Regions from separate parts of the Homo sapiens genome. Here region 1 is linked to region 2. Evidence: promoter capture Hi-C in 16 types of primary human blood cells and fetal thymus (Javierre and others, 2016). All regions are on one chromosome and are shown on one strand. Each heading gives the region's core, a stretch centred on a gene start or on the middle of the fragment in contact. The rest is flanking DNA. Distances are from core to core; before and after follow the strand shown. Region 1 holds the start of EGFLAM-AS2 (EGFLAM antisense RNA 2). Region 2 overlaps OSMR-DT (OSMR divergent transcript).

Region 1 (3,088 bases), core at 274-2,773, 360 kb after region 2:
CGTCAATACAGAGCATCATCTTTTGGGGAACATTCAGTTGGCATTTTTATTCAACTGTCATCCGCAGAATCCACTGATCCACAGCGCTCTGATTTAGGTTGCACATGGGAAACACTCCACCAGGAGGTGGCAGCCTTTTAAAGAGCGGCTCCAGGGCACCTGCATGTCCTCACAGTGGATTTGGGCCAGCACAGGTATTAACTTGCTGCCCTCTCTCAACTGAAAAAGCCAGGCACCAGCCTTTAGGGCAGTAACAACTTTGGCAACAGAAACTGGCTTTGGTAGGATGCTGCCACTCATTAGTTATTAGACATCCAGTGTTTGGATGCCTAGTGGAAAAGAAAAAGGAAAAATAACATAAAAAGCATAAAAAACATAAACTAAACTTAAAGACATTTTGCTTTCAGAATAAGCTAAGTCATGCACCATTCTCAGGAAGACAAACTCACCCTCCTACATTGTCTGTCCAGGCTGCTACAACAAAAGTACCATAAACTGATGGCTTGTAAACCACAAACATTTATTTTTCACAGTTCTGCAGGCTGTGAAGTCCCAGATCAAAGGGCTGGCAGTATCTGATGAGGGCACAGATGGTGCCTTCTCACTGCATCTTCACATGGTGGAAAGGGCAAACCAGCCCCTTTGGGCCTCTTTAATAAGGGCACTGATCCCATTCACAAGGACTCCACCCTTATGATCTAAGTACCTCCCAAAGGCCCCTCCTTGGGGGTTAGGATTTCAACATATGAATTTGAGGGAGACATAAACATTCCGACCATAGCACTCCTCCAAACAGAATAGCAATCAGATTGAAAATGGAGTGGAAGGAAATGGCAGAAAGTCATTTTTGTCAGGGGGCGTGCTGTTGACCAGAAATCAATCTCCTCCCAGACCAGACGAGAGAAGTGCAGTCAGCAGATGATGCAGATGACCCAGAGACAGGGTGGAGTGAGCTGTTCTCAGGGGTTCGGGCACTTCTTGGTGGAGGTGGGATAACAAAGGGGAGGCGGTGTTCTCATCCCTTCCACACCAATTCCCCAGTTTTATTTAAAGTAGTCCACCTGTCAACTGAAAATTCAACCTGTCGATGCCAGATTTATACCTGGATGCATGTTCTCTCAAGCCACCTGCATGCAGCGTATCTGTGTGCCAGATGTCTTCACACAAAAGGCCCTTGAGGACAGCTCCTTCCTCTTGTCTCTATCTTTGTACAGCAAGCAGTCCCCCTTATCTGTATTTTTGCTTTCTGCAATTTCATTTACCCTCGATCAACCACAGTCCAAAAATATTAAATGGGAAATTCCAGAAATAAACAATTCATAAGTTCTGAGTAGCACGATGAAATAGCACACTGCCCTGCTCCATCCTGCCTGGGATATGAATCATCCCTCTGTCTGGCATATCCGTGCTCCATATGCTCCCTGCCCCATGGTCTGCAGCCGTCTCAGTTGTCAGATTCACTGTCATGGTATCGAAGTGCTTATGTTCCAGTAACCATTATCTGACTTCATAATGGCCCCACAGTGCAAGAGCAGTGATTCTGGGATTCAGATATGCCAAAGAGAAGCCATGAAGTGCATCTTTTAAATTAAAAGGTGAAAGTTCTCAACTGAATTAAGGAAAGAAAAAAATCATATGCTGAGGTTGCTAAGATCTATGGCAAGAATGAATCTTCTATCTGTGAAACTGTGAAGAAGGAAAATGAAATTTATGCTAGTTCTGCTGCATATATAGGGTTCAGTATTATCTGCAGTTTCAGGTATCCACTGGGAATCTTGGAACACATCCCCTGCGGAGAGGGAACTACTGTATCTATCTCTCTCGGCCCCTCTCTCTCTTTCTCTTTCTCCCCTCTGTCCTTTCCCTCACTCTTCATTTCTATCTCTGCCTCTCTCACATATTCAGAATTGTTAGATTCCAGAAGAAGAAATCCATTTGGTAGTAAAAGAATTATACAGCACATACATAAAGCAAGCTGGCTTTTGTCTTCAGTAGTTTGGTCTCTCTCCTTCCAGGCTGTTCTTCCTTGCCCTGTGCACCTTATTAACACATTCTCAACAAGGTTAAGATTCTCTTCATCTTTATCCTATGATTTCCTATCTGAAAAATCACCTTCAGTGACTCTCCACTGCCTACAACATAAATTCTAGGCTTCTTGGTCAAGAATTCAAGGTTCTCAATTAAAACAGCTCCTTTTTTCCTCCTTCTTCCCCCATCACCATGATTTATTGAATTCTACTCCATCTCCTCTTCTTATCAGGTACTATTGGGTGCTTAACATGATATATTTCTAAACTTTTCAATAATCTTACAAGGTAAGTATGACTAATCCATTTTATACATAAGAAAACTGAGTTAAGAGTAGTTAAGTAATTTACCTAAAATTGAAGACTTTATAACTGGCTGAGCTAAACTCAAATCCAAGGTCTGTCTGGTGACTGCTCTCCTAATCGCCTATTGCAGAAGAAGCCACTGTGGAGGTAGAAAGATCCTAGAATTTGAGAAAATTACCATATGTTGATCATTCTTAGTGTGCCAGGAGCTTTTCATACATCGCTTAAGTTAATCCTCACAAAATACTATAAAATTGGTGTTATTACTTCCATTTTACCAAGTGGAGATATAGACACAGAGAGATTAAATAACTTGCTCAAGGCAGACAGATGGGGAATGGCAGGGCTAGATTTTATCCTTGGTCTCTCTTTTGACTACATCATGCTACTTAATCTGAATCCTAATTATGTTTTCAGGTTTTTGTTGTTTTTTAAAAAATACTCTTTAAAAGCTATATAATAGCCAAACTGGCCTGCCAGTTGTCTCCTGAATGCATCTTGTATTTTCTTACCCTAGGATTTTGGTTAATGCTTTTTCCCATTGTCATCTTTTTCCCACTCCTATCTCCTTACACACAGCCTACCTATTCTCCCAGAGGGCATGCATTCTATGGAGACAGAGCTGAATGTGTGCCATCAGAAGACCAAAATCAAGCGACATTTTAAAAAGAAAACAGACTCTTCTGGGAAAAATGGTGACTCCACAAAGTAAGAAGCCACCAAGACTTGTAGGACATTCCTTCATCTTCTCCTGG
Region 2 (2,776 bases), core at 178-2,677:
GGTTTCTACCTACCCTTTTGTGGTTTTTCTTCCTCTGCCTTTTCCTAAAATGATGATGTTCCTTGTACTTATGCCCCAGGCCCACTTTCTTTCTCATCCTATGTGCTTTTTCTAGGTCATCTCACATGTGTCCAATTATGATCTATTAGCTGTCAACTCCCAAGTCTGCATCTGCAGTACATATGACTCTCCTAAATTGTAAACCTATGTAGCCAACTCCCTACTAAAATTGTGTGTCCCCAAAACAAAGCAGATTCAACATGTTTGGTATGAATCCATCCTATTTTCCCTTAAAACGTTACTTTTCTCTGTTTTCATTATCCATCCAGCAATCCAACCAGAATCTTGAAATATCAGAGGATTCTAATTTTTATCTGGCGGCTGGCTTCCAAGAGGCAGGAAGCAAAAGTTGCCAGATCAGTTAAGAGCTATGTCTGTAACTGGTGCATCATCACTTCTGCTGAATTAAGTTGCTCAAACTTAATCAAAAGATTGACCCAGATTCAGGTTACCAAGAGTAGAGAAACTGACTATCTCAGGATGGGTGAGTATCAAGTCCATATTGTGAAAGAGTGTGTGGAATGGGAAATGTCATTGTAAGCATCTTTGTGAAGTGCAATCTGCAACAACATCACAATCAGAAATCAAATTCAGACTCAACTAACTCCCAAGTCAAAACATTTAATCATTGTTATACTGCTTCACATATTCAGAAAAGCACTTTCCTCACTTCTAGAAAATAGCTGAAATTAAGAAATTTTGGTGCTTCTGAATTATTAGTTAATTGTTTATTCACTTATTCATCCAATATCTTCAGATACTATAGGTAGCCAGCATCTACAACAAGCCCAGGCATTGTTTGAGTGCACACAATAGTGAATAGAATAGACAAATCATTGGTCTCCTGGAGTGTAGAGTTCATTCTTCCACCATTGCATAAATAGTTTCATTTTAAATGATGGAATCAGAATCAGTTGTTATTAATGGCAAGCAATGGTCAGTTTTTGACCCTAAGGAATGTTGGAATGAAGCTCTTCAGAGAAGCGGAGGTCTGCACAGAGTTTAAAACTTAAGCTTGGCCCACAGTGCATAGCATTGTAAAATATTTAGAGTTCTTGGTGGCATGTATACAAGGAAGAATGTAAATTTTAAATATTTGCAGTTGATAAGTATAATTTATTATATGATAGTACTTGACACATACCAGCTTACCAAGAAAAATGCTTGAACGTTGCATTCAAGCAAATTAATTTTACATCCTGTCCTGGGGTCAAACTGTGGCTCTGGCTGACTGGCCAACAGTTGGTAGGCCAACTGCCAAAACAATCAGTGGGATCACTGTGCAATCCGATCCCCTCATTAAGACAACTGAGACGCTAACAACCAAATCCAATGGACTCTATAGCAATCGAATCAATTGCCCCACAATCAGATAGAACAGCTCTCCAATCAAATTAATTTAATTGTATTTGGTTTAGTTAAGTGACATGGTGCCTGTTCTCTCCTCATACATAGCATGACATAACGCTAGCTTTTGAAGGGATCCTGAAGAACAACTAGTTCTATGCTTCTCAAATTGGGAAAAAACTATGGGCAGTGTACACAGTCACCAGATAAATGTGGTGTGTCTTTCTGGATTGCTAAATTATCTTAAAATTTGATGGGAAGGGGGAGGATACGTTTATATATGTAAACAAGTACACATATATCATGGATTATGTATACTCTGACAACACTAACAAAAATTTCAATCTCAGTGATTTAAAACAGCAAAGCTTATTTCTTGTTTATGCTACACATCCGTCAGGGTCAGCTGGGGGCTGAGTTCCTAGCATTCTTCATTCCATGATTCAGATGAACAGAGAAGCCTTTATCTAGACCTCTACGTATTGCCTTAGTGGAAGAAAAGACTACAGTAGGCCGGGCGCGGTGGCTCACACCTGTAATCCCAGCACTTTGGGAGGCCGAGGTGGGCAGATCATGAGGTCAGGAGATCGAGACCATCCTGGCTAACAGGGTGAAACCCCATCTCTACTAAAAAAAAGTACAAAAAATTAGCCAGGCGTGGTGGCGGCCACCTGTAGTCCCAGCTACATGGGAGACTGAGGCAGGAGAATAGCGTGAACTCGGGAAGTGGAGTTTGCAGTGAACCGAGATTGCGCCACTGCACTCTGGCCTGGGGGACAGAGTGATACTCTGTCCCCCACTAAAAAAAAAAAGACAACAGTAAATCCAGAGGAAATAATGAGCTAGATCTTAATACTCCCACCTGGGAGTAGAATATGTCACTTCCACACACACACTTCATTGGTCAAATCATGTCACGTTTGACCCAGCTATTTTCAAAGCGGGGCAGGGAAGGGCAATCCTACCATGTGTCCAGAAGAACTAGAAATATTTGGTAAACAGTAGAGTCACCTGTCAGCCAAAGATGGCTGCACTCAGGTGAGTTGAACAAAAGTTGTAGTGAGCCCTGGCATGTCTGAGGAAGACCTGGACAGGCACTGGAACCTGGAGGAAGGAGAATATAAGGCTCAAGATGGAAAATCAGGAGCCAGATAGCACTTTCAAGGAAAACGTAATTTTAGGCATCATAACTAGAAAAATTAACCAGCTTCCAGAAGCAGAAAGGAAACTACTTGAACATGGATCAATATATGTTGAACTTAATGCTGTTCTCCGTGGCCTAATAGCAAACAGTCTTTTTCTATGCATCTTGAACATGACACAGGCTCATATAGCTGTCGGCTCACCAATGGCAGAGAACCCATTTCTG

The links. The method cuts DNA at HindIII sites, captures the fragments that hold promoters and counts their contacts. A CHiCAGO score of 5 or more calls a contact.
Region 1: the fragment with the promoter of EGFLAM-AS2 here is called in contact with a fragment that was not itself captured in region 2 in 3 of 17 cell types (M1 macrophages, M2 macrophages and M0 macrophages); the score reaches 6.3 in M1 macrophages.

The regions. Positions count from the first base shown.
Region 1 is chr5:38,401,906-38,404,993 of GRCh38, reverse strand. It overlaps EGFLAM-AS2 (EGFLAM antisense RNA 2), which reads left to right and starts at 1,523. Exons shown (of 3, transcript NR_102750.1): 1 at 1,523-1,595; 2 at 2,913-3,088. All of the region lies in intron 6 of EGFLAM (EGF like, fibronectin type III and laminin G domains), which reads right to left. The HindIII fragment of the contact is 8,755 bases long and covers 1-3,088 here.
Region 2 is chr5:38,764,051-38,766,826 of GRCh38, reverse strand. The region is part of intron 2 of OSMR-DT (OSMR divergent transcript); the gene reads left to right. It also overlaps the pseudogene LOC100132789. Among named protein-coding and RNA genes, the nearest start is that of LINC01265, 45 kb to the right of the region's middle. RefSeq lists a silencer at 1,206-1,500. The HindIII fragment of the contact is 701 bases long and covers 1,077-1,777 here.